Linked DNA regions of Homo sapiens: region 1 is linked to region 2. The links are contacts of gene promoters, found by promoter capture Hi-C in blood cells and fetal thymus (Javierre and others, 2016). All regions are on one chromosome and are shown on one strand. The core of a region is centred on a gene start or on the middle of the fragment in contact, and the rest is flanking DNA. Distances in the headings are between cores, read along the strand shown. Region 1 overlaps MEIOB (meiosis specific with OB-fold). Region 2 holds the start of ABCA3 (ATP binding cassette subfamily A member 3).

What was found. Contacts are between HindIII fragments. The CHiCAGO score rates a contact against its expected background, and 5 or more counts as called.
Region 1: a contact is called between a fragment that was not itself captured here and the fragment with the promoter of ABCA3 in region 2, in 1 of 17 cell types (M2 macrophages). The highest score is 5.1, in M2 macrophages.

The regions. Positions count from the first base shown.
Region 1 is chr16:1,854,691-1,859,938 of GRCh38, forward strand. It overlaps MEIOB (meiosis specific with OB-fold), which reads right to left. Exons shown (of 14, transcript NM_001163560.3): 6 at 3,045-3,240. Among named protein-coding and RNA genes, the nearest start is that of MEIOB, 15 kb to the right of the region's middle. The HindIII fragment of the contact is 1,121 bases long and covers 2,732-3,852 here.
Region 2 is chr16:2,339,317-2,344,568 of GRCh38, forward strand. It overlaps ABCA3 (ATP binding cassette subfamily A member 3), which reads right to left and starts at 1,412. Exons shown (of 33, transcript NM_001089.3): 1 at 1,257-1,412. It also overlaps the pseudogene ABCA17P. RefSeq lists silencers at 1,033-1,092, 1,263-1,722. The HindIII fragment of the contact is 6,638 bases long and covers 1-5,252 here.

The DNA of each region.
Region 1 (5,248 bases), core at 2,042-4,541, 480 kb before region 2:
ATGTCCTTTGCCTTCTCCACAGGGCTACCATGGTGAGAGCCACATGCGAGATACACAGGAAACTTTGACACTGTCCAATTCTGTCCATTGTGGGGTAAGATGATCAAAGAAGTGGAAATCCTCTTGCCCATTAAAGCAAGTTAAAAAAAAAAAAAAAGAAGAGTTGAAACTAGGACCCTTCTCTCCACCCAGTGGCTTCTCATGTGGGAACGGCAGGCACCTCTGAGAGATGCACAGCAGCAGGCCCAGCATGGACAGTCACTGGCCACCCCCACCTCTGCCACCACTGCATCTGTGGTGCCCAGAGAAAGGGACCTAGAAAGGACAGCCAGAGGCTGAGAGGTCAGCCTAACATCTGGGGTTGGGAAGGTGGAGAACACTGTATTAAAAAGGAGTTTTAAAGTGAAACGCCAGTGGGGGTGAGAGGAAGAAACAACAGGTTAAATGAAAGTGTGAAGAGTGGCCGGGAGGGGTGGCTCACGCCTGTAATCCCAGCACTTTGGGAGGCCGAGGTGGGTGAATCACGAGGTCAGGAGTTCAAGACTAGCCTGGCCAATATGGTGAAACCTTGTCTCTACTAAAAATACAAAAATTAGCTGGGCATGGTGGTACACGCCTGTAGTCCTGGCTACTCGGGAGGCTGAGGCAGGAGAATTGCTTGAACCCGGGAGGTGGAGGTTGCAGTGAGCCAAGATCACGCCACTGCACTCTGCACTCCAGCCTGGGTGACAGAGCAAGACTCCATCTCAAAAAGAAAAAAAAAGTATGAAGAAAAGAAAATGTAAGAGGGCTGAAAGCCAAAGGGGAGATGAAAGGCATGAGAAGAAGTGACGTGACACATGAAAGGTTCCAGACTCACTGAGGGGGTGGGAAAGCTGCCGCAGTTTCCTGCTTATACTACTATATTCATTCAGGGTTGTAGACAATTCTTACTTCATTATAAACGTAATAGCACTGTCTAGAATTTGGGGAAATCGCAAACAATTGAGCACTCCTTTGAACAACTGAATAGGATTGAACATAAACTGCCTACAAAGTGACTTCTCCTGTTTTTCAAGATGATCATATAGCGGGCTTATTCCTTCTCCCTAAAGTATACAGATGCTCCCCAGGTGGCAGGCATGTCCTCCACAGCCAGGGCCCTGCCATCTGAAAGGGTCACGTTCTCTCAGTCACCATTTAATATAACAAGCAATTCACATTTACTTACATGAACTATCATAAGCATGTGTGTTTTTTCCTTTTTTTTTTTTTTTGTCTCTTGACTATCATCCCTCTCTATATTAAGAAATTACTCTTGCCTCTTTATTTATTTATTTATCAACCCAGAATCTCGCTCTGTCGCCCAGGCTGGAGTGCAGTGGCGCCATCTCAGCTCATTGCAACCTCTGTCTCCTGGGTTCAAGTAATTCTCCTGCCTCAGCCTCCTGAGTAGCTGGGACTCCAGGTACCTGCCACCATGCCCAGCTAATTTTTTTTTTTTGAGACGGAGTCTCGTTCTGTCGCCCAGACTGGAGGGCAGTGGTACGATCTCGGCTCACTGCAACCTCCACCTTCCAGGTTCAAGTGATTCTCCTGACTCAGCCTCCCAAGTAGCTGGGACTGCAGGAACCTGTCACCATGCCCAGCTAATTTTTTTTTTTTTTTGAGTCGGAGTCTCGCTCTGTCGCCCAGGCTGGAGTGCAGTGGCGCAATCTTGGCTCACTGCAAGCTCTGCCTCCCGGGTTCACGCCATTCTCCTGCCTCAGCCTCCTGAGTAGCTGGGACTACAGGCGCCCACCACCTCACCTGGCTAATTTTTTGTATTTTTAGTAGAGACGGGGTTTCACCGTGTTAGCCAGGATGGTCTCGATCTCCTGACCTCGTGATCCTCCCGCCTCAGCCACCCAAAGTGCTGGGATTACAGGCGTGAGCCACCGCACCAGGCCACCCAGCTAATTTTTGTATTTTTAGTGGCGATGGTGTTTCACCATATTGGCCAGGCTGGTCTCGAACTCCTGACCTTGTGATCCACCCGCCTCAGCCTCCCAAAGTGCTAGGATTACAGGCATGAGCCACCACGCCAGGCCTTTTTTTTTTTTTTTTTTTTTTGAGACAGGGTCTCCCTCTATTGCCCAGGCTGGAGTGCAGTGGCATGATTTTGGCTCACTGCAACCTCAACCTCCCAGGCTCAGGTGATCCTCCCACTTCAGCCTCCCAAGCAGCTGAGATTACAGGTACACACCACCACATCCGGCTAATTTTTGTATTTTTTGTAGAGATGGAGTTTCACCATGTTGCCCCAGGCTGGTCTTGAACTGGGCTCAAGTGATCCCTCTGCCTTGGTCTCCCAAAGTGCTAGGATCACAGGTGTAAGCCACTGTGCCTGGACTAATTTTCATGTACTTTATTTTGTGAAACTTTACCGTTGAGGTCTACATCTCAATCTCCGCCTTGTGGCTCTGGTCTGTCCAACTACAGAGCTCAGAACTTGCTACAGTAATTCAGACAGACGCTGATGCACCAGAAGGGAACACCCCCCTGGTGCCCCACGGAGGGCCATCCTCCCGTGCACCTCACCAGCATGGTCCCACTGCACCTATTAGACCATGGAGCCCTACAGCAGGGCAGCGTGTATTCCCACTCCCTCCCTGGTTGCTGGGCAGCTCTGAGCACAAAGGCACAGAACTGATCCCTTAACTTATTCAACTACGCCCCTTCAAGGAAGGTCATGGAGATTTTCGAGTCAATAAGCTTACCCTTTCCATTTACATCTTTGTTTAAGCAATGTATAAAAAGTTCTCCTATAGTTAGCAGATCATTTACGAGCAGAGTGGAACACTGCATTTAGCATTCAAATACAATTTTATTTTACTACTCATCCACAGATAAAAAGCTAGTTTCCCTTTAATGAGAAGTGTTACTGTTTTCTTAATTCAGCATACTACCAAGATAGAGAAGAAAAGTTACCCCAGCTGATCGTGACCACTCCATCCCAAACACAGATCAAGTGACTGCACCTCCCCTGCCAGATTGCACTTGGCTTTGTCGGGGTTTTAACTTACCGATTTCACAGCTGCAAGCACGTTAATAATCCTCCCATTAAGACTGTGTCCATTTGCAACAATGTCACCCAGTGAATAATAATCATGAGACTCTTTAACAGGTAAATGTATCAAAGAAAGTAACTTTGTGTCCACTTCATAACTGGAACAAACTTTTACTGTTGAGTGATTCTCACTGAGCAACAGTTTACAGTTGCTAAATTGCAAAAACACAAGAAAGTTATTTGAAAGTGATCTTTGGAAAGAAAAATATTTCCAGGTCCACATTTAAACTACATTTTTCATTGAAATTTAGACAATACTAATATATACTTTTTACTCTTAGAAACATTGAATAATACAGCAAAACATTTTTTGTTTACAGTGCACTTTCATTAAGGAAATGTTTTGAGAATTGATTCGTGTCGGGGTTCTAAACATACCATTTGTCTGATCTTGCCCAAGACTCTGCGCTTGTTTCCTTCTCCAAAAAAATAGGAGCAAAAAAGCGCTCTGAAACTTTCAGGGGTTATACAAACCCAAGGACTGGTTGTTTCTCTCTCTTATGGACCTGGCTGTTCTGCCTTAGTGCCTCAGGTCAGGGACTGTGTTTTTCCTACCCCTACTGAGCTCTGCATGGAGCAGACGCAGAACACTGGCACAGTGAGCCCGAACTGAGGAGCTCTCCCTCCTGCACCGAGTCCCTCCCGGCCCTTGCACTCTGTGCCCCAGCAGTCCTCTAACCCAGCCCCACCTCCTCCCCACTGCTCGGCCTCACTTACCTACCTCATCACTTCTCTCCCAAGCCACTGCCTTGCTATCCTAACTAAGCTTCATTCCCCTACAGTCCATCCTCCATAAGCAAAGTGATCTTCCTAAACCACAAATATGAAAATATTATTTCCCAGCTCAAAGACCATCATTGTGGCTACCAGTCACAAAGGAAATAACTCAGTATGAAAGCAAAGCTGTCTGTAAAATATCTCTGCTTCCACCTTAAGCTTCTCCTCCTGCCCGTGCCCTGCATTCCAGCCGTATCAGACTATTACATTATGAAATTGGTATTTCTAGATGAAAAATAGTAAAACATCAGCAGTTTCATATGGCTCAAACTAATATTAACTGTTCTGGAAAAGACAGGAGGTTTCCTGTTTCTTCCCTCTACCAAGAATATTCTCTCCATCTAACCATCCATCCATCACTTCCATGAATACTGAGAATCTGTTATATACCAGACCCTATGCTAGGCACAAGGGATATGGTGGTGAAGAAGGCAGACAAGACCTTTGATCTCATGAGGCTCACATATGTGAGGGGGAGACCCAAGAACAATGAATCAAACAATCTCAGACGGTGACTTGGGTTATGCTGACAAAAGCCAGGGCAAAATCCCAGTAATTGACCATTAGCGCTACCACAAACAGAGTAGATGGGGAAGGTTGAAGAAGATGACATTTAAGCTGTGAGTCAATAACCCAAAGAAGCAAATAGTCAAACAGATGGGAGAAAGTTCTATGCAGAGAGAGAATAGAAAATACAAAAGTTTGGCCAGGCGCGGTGGCTCACGCCTGTAATCCCAGCCCTTTGGGAGGCCGAGGCGGGCGGATCACTTGAGGTCAGGAGTTCGACACCAGCCTGGCCAACATAGCAAAACCCCGCCTCTACTAAAAATACAAAAATTAGCTGGGTGTGGGGCGTGTGCCTGTAATCACAGCTACTTGGGAGGCTGAGGTGGGAGAATGGTTTGAACCCAGGAGTTAGAGGTTACAGTGAGCCGAGATCGTGCCACTGCACTCCAGCCTGGGCAACAGAGTGGGACTCTGTCTCAGTAAAAAATAAAAAATAAAAATAAAAGGAAATACAAACGTTCTTAGTGCAGAATGAGTTCACGGTGTTCATGAAATATAAAGAAATTCACTGTGGCTACAGAGAAATGAGGCTTGAGAGTCTGGCATAAGATGAGGTCAGAAAAGAAGGTGGGAACGGGTCACAGTTGATGCGAGTGTAAATGCTGTAGACTGCTGTGCCCACCAAGAGCCCTTTACAGGCTGGTACAGGGCACAGCTACACCCTTCTCTCCAGAACTGCCAGACCCGCCTTTGAGCTGATGCCCCGCCCCATCCTGCGGGTTTGGGGAGTGGATGGACTACAGCCAGGGCACTGCTCTAAGGGGCCACTCCCACTCCAGAGCTCCCTCCCGGCTCCTGCTGAGGCTCCAGGTGAAC
Region 2 (5,252 bases), core at 162-2,661:
CTGGTCAGAATGGTGGTAAGTCACTTTAGGAAGGGAGAGACGTCGTCCTGTTTTTCAGGTAGAGTTAGCAAAGGTTCAATTTAAAAGAAAAATTATCTAAGAAGTTAAAAATGAAAGTGTGGGGGAGATTCCCATGACATCCATTTTTATCTATTTTTCCCTTTCTCTTACATTTCTCATGAGGCAAACTTTCTAAAACAGTCTTAGTCTTTTCAAGTTTACAAAAGGCAGCGCCCAGACTATCTGAATAAAATGACGGGATGCCCAGGAGAAGAGTGAACCTCTCCCACGTGCTCCCTGCCTGGGCTCCATGCTGTCGCGGGGTCTCGGCTACTCACTCAGCGGGCATTTCTGGAGTTCCAGGAACACAAACCCCAACAAGATCCAATCGACGCCTTCCCGGAGTGCACAGTCCAGGACGTAACCCGGAGAACAAGCGGCAATTACCCCCTGAGGACATGGCTTCATCTGTGCGACAGACACCAAGCGCCTTCCCCACGCCCCTGACCATAAGGCCGTCCCGGCCCTTCTGAAGCGTGGAGCCGGCTTGGAACAGAGCCAAGACACACGGACGCGATGCACACAGGCGTCCTGACCGAGGGCGCCGAGAACGCGGCCTCCGGCGACTGCCACAAGCCCCTCCGCCTGGACTAGCGGCTCCCCTTTCCCGTTCCCACACAGTGGAGGGCGCAGCAAACGCCCGCCGCGGACCGTGGGCCTTGGATTCGGATTTGGAGGCTCCTCGGAACCAGAGGGTGGGAGCAGGCGGAATCCAACCCGGGCGGCTTTGCCACCGCGCGCCCGGCATCCCTGCGGCCGGAAAGCGGCGCCATCTCCGCAAGTGCGCGGCGGACGCCTGCATCCCTCGGGGCCGGGGCTGTCGGTCGCTACATATCCACCTTCTGGGCGCACACAGAGGGCCCGGGCCGTGCCGAGTCTCCGCAGGGTCGAGCTTCCCCGCGCGGCGCGGGCTCAGGCACTGCCCGCAGTGCGGGACACGCCCAAGGCTCGGATGGGAGCCGACGCTGAGGGAGCGGCACCTGCAGGGAGCGCCCGGAGCCGAGGCCGCGGCAGGAGGGGCGGGCGCGGGCGCGGCCGGAGGGGATGCGGGGTCGCGGGAGGGGCCCGCAGGCCAGGCCGGAGCTGGGGGGGGCCCGAGGCCCGAGCTGGCCGGCGAGGGTGGGAAGGGCGGACCCGGGTGGGGACCGCAAGCCCCGGGAACGAGCGCGCGAGCGGCGGGTCCCGGCGGCACTCACCGAGCCTGGGCGCCGGGGCGGCGGCGGCCGGCGCGCGGCCCTCTCGCGGGGTCCCCTCCCTCGGCCACCCGGGCTCCGCTCCAGCCTCGCAGTGGCGGCGGCACTGACAGCTGCGTGGCCGCCCTGGAGGGGAGGGTGCGCCTGCAACCCGCTACTGGCGGACGCAGCGGCCGCTCCGGCTCCTGCAGGGGGCGCCGCGGATGGCGCGTGCGCAGTCGGCCGCCCCTGCAGGTGCCCGGTCCACCCCCGGCCGCCTCGGCCGCTCCGGCCAGCCCAACCCCGCGCCTGCGCGGTGCCCCCTGCATGTCGCCCATGCCCGGCAGAGGGCGCTCTGACTTGCGCGTGCGCAGTCAGCCACCCTGCGAGTACGCGGTTCGCACCCGGCCGCGCGGCAGCCCGTGCTTGCGCACTGCTCTGTGCCCGCGCCTATGTCCAGCAGGGGGCGCGCAGCGGCGGTAGCCGAGCGAGGGCGCGGTGGCCTCTGACAGGAATGACTCTGCGCACGTGCGTTTCGCAGCAGTGGAAGTCTTCACACCCGGAAACTCGACTTTGGCCGTTTCTCCATTTCTCCTCACGCACTGTCTTTCCTTGGGCCCTCGTCACTCCTGGCACCGGGGGAAGGGCTTCCCCGCCTCTGGCCGGGCGCTGGGGCGCGACCGAAGGCGAGGCGGCGGCGAGGAACCTTCTGGAATTCGGCCGTCGGGGCAGGCGTCGAGTTTACAGGAGAAGGCGCGGTGTCCCGGGATGAGCGGAGTCGCCCTCACTTAAGGAGCGAGGGAGGCCTCGGGGGTCCCCAGCCGGGTAGGAGTCACCTCAGGCAGGAGGGCCCGGCCTTGTCGGGGTCACCTGGCGGGAGGGTCCCGGGGTGGGGCGGGGCCGCCTGTGAGGAGGGTCCAGAGAGGGTCGGGGTCACCTGAGGGGAGGGTGGGGGGGTTCGGGGATGGTTGGGGTCACCCGACGGGATGGTCCGGGGAGGGTCGGGTTCACCTGAGGGGAGGGTCGGGGAGGGTCCGGAGAGGGTCGGGGTCACCTGAGGAGGTGGTCCGGAGAGGGTCGGGGTCACCTCACGGAGCGAGCGGAACGGGGTCACCTGGAGGGAGTGTCCAGGGCGGGGGCCCTGCAGGGAGTCGCCTGCAGGGAGGGTCCCGGGCGTGTCACATTAGGCGGTCCCAGGGACGGGTCGCGGTCTAACGGGACGGGAGTGGGGAGGTGGGTCGGGGTGTCCCTGGGCCGGACCGGGTCGTGGGACTGGGTCGCCCCAGGCAGGAGAGCCTGGGAGGGGCGGGCCCCCTTGGCGTGGCAGGGAGAGGTGGAGTGAGGGACTCCCGGGCTCCAGCATGAGGGCGGGCGCCGCGCGGGGCCGACAGTTGCCGCGGGCCGGGGCCAATGGGTCCCCGAGCGCCGCCAGCGGCCGGACCACAGTGAGGTGCGTCCGTGGTCCCGGCGCCCCGGGTGAGGGAGGGCTGCTGCCGGTCCTGCCGCTGGGAGCCGCCTGCGACCCGCACCGCCAGCCCCGCGCCCAGCCAGCCGCCGGCACCACGACCCGACGGCCCCGACCTAATGCAACGCCCCGGGCCGGGGGCGGAAATCGCCCACCCCCAAGAGTCCTGATGGAGTAGGGTTTGAGCGGCTCGTTCCCCATTTTACTGTGTACATAGCACCTTTCACTCTGATGATGTTCTGGATAGCCCATTCCGCGAGCAAAGGGACTTCGTCAGGTTCATGCCTAGATCCAGGGTCCTAGAGTGCCTGGGGCGGAGGAGGCTCATGCTAAATAATTTGTTCAGTGGAATCACAGAGACCTGGCTTCAGATCTTGACCCACCAATTAATGTAGACATGTCATTTTATCTTTCTGAGTCTCAATTTCCTATCCCTAAAATTGAAATTATAATAATAGTAATTAATAATAATAGCAAACTCAAAGGTTTTTTGTTGGTGTATTCTTTTCTTTTTTGGGTCAAATGAGAAAATGCATGTTTAAGTGCTTACTACAATACCTGACACATAAATGCCAAATAAATGGTAGTATATAATGTGAGTATAGCTAGGGATTTACATAGCCTAGTCTCCGTAATGAGCATACAGGGGGAAAAAAAACCCCAAACAATTGAATGCAGTTACAGGATGGGTGGGGGAGTGGATTATTAATGCGCTGCAAACATCCTAAAAACCCCCTTTCCCCATCAGTCTTCACAGACTGCAACACCCCATCCAAAATGTCTTCCCCATTCTCTGCTTCGTCCCAGAAAATGATGTGAACTTGGCTGCTTGGCCCTGTCTTCACCCGGTCATATCCTCAGTCATTTTTCTTTCCAAAACCAATCCTTGCCATTTCCAAATTGAATTTGTTAGACCTTGCACGTTTTTCCGGCCTTTTCAAAACTGGATCCCAATTCTCTGTAACCAAATCCAGTACCAGAACTGGCTGACTCAGAATTTACCTTAGATGGAAGATAGGGTAGGAATTTTGGAAGAAGGATGACCTTACAGATCAAGACAGACAATTGCAGGGTACTAATTTTATATCTTTTTTCTTAACTCTGCCAGGTTAATTGTTAATTATTATAATCACAATCATGAGGTGGGAGGGTGTGAAGGCCACTGGGAAAAGTATCTTATGCCCAAAAATTTCAGGCTCTGAACTGTTAAAAAACAGTTGCCCACAGTGAGCTGGACCCTTTTGATGCCCTTCAACAATCCCTGGATAATTCATCACATTGTGCTCAAGGCCCACTACTGAAAAAATAAAGCAAACCTAGATGCTCCACCTAGTCATTTCTTTCCAGATGGAGGCCCAGATAAGGTCATAATTTCTTCAGAGTCACCCAGTAGAGCTGAGATGACAACCTCCGTGTTCAGGCTCCTGGACTCTACCCCTCTCTTATATGGAAACACTCACATCCATATACCATGAATACATGCTGAGAAATTGAAGGATACACTCCTTGAAGTTACTATGGTTCAAACATTTCTTTTCTCTCAAGATTGATGGTAAACATTATAGTGGATGGTGACACTCATAAACAAATCTTACAGCTTCACAAAAGGCAGTAAACCTAGCCATTATACTAGTCGGCTAGATATAATTAAACCAATAAGCTCCCAATTCTTTGAAGGGGTACAAATACTATACCCTATCTATCTATCTATCTATCTATCTATCTATCTATCTATCTATCTATCTATCTGTCTATCTATTGTATCGTACAACAGTACCCAAATTGCTGATATTCAATACAGTATCTTAGAATAGGGCTTCTTTGATTGTTTCCCTGGGAATGATGTTATAATTCAGAGACGCATTGTAGACCAAGGGCTGTACACATATTCTTTCATTCAGTGATTGGGAAGCATTATATTGTAATGGTTAAAACTGAACTCTGGCCATATTGCCTCAGATTAAATTCCAGCTCTTAATGTCTTTAGGCAAATTACTGGACCTTTCTGTGCCTTGGTTTCCTAGTATAAAATGAGGATTGTATAACAATTCCTCACAGAATTGTTGTGAGGATTAGATGCATTAAAACATGTAAAGTACAGGACTTAGAAAAGTCCTTGGCATTCGGCAAGGGCTCAATAAGTGATCTAAGCATTATACTGTATGCTTTGGAAACAAACGCATGAACATTTTTTTTTTTTGAGACGGTGTTTCACTCTTGTGGCCCAGGCTGGAGTGCAATGGCGCAATCTCGGCCCACTGCAGCCTCCGCCTCCCGGGGTCAAGCGATTCTCCTGCCTCAGCCTCCCAAGTAGCTGGGATTACAGGCATGCGCTGCCATGCCTGGCTAATTTTGTATTTGTAGTAGAGACGGGGTTTCTTCATGTTGATCGGGCTGGTCTCGAACTCCCGACCTCAGGTGATCCACCACCTCGGCCTCCCAAAGTGCTGGGATTACAGGCATGAGCCACTGCACCCGGCCCAACAAATGAAATTTATGTGTTTTGAAGGATCTCACAAAACAGAGTTGCTTAATTCGATTTAGTTTTCACTGTG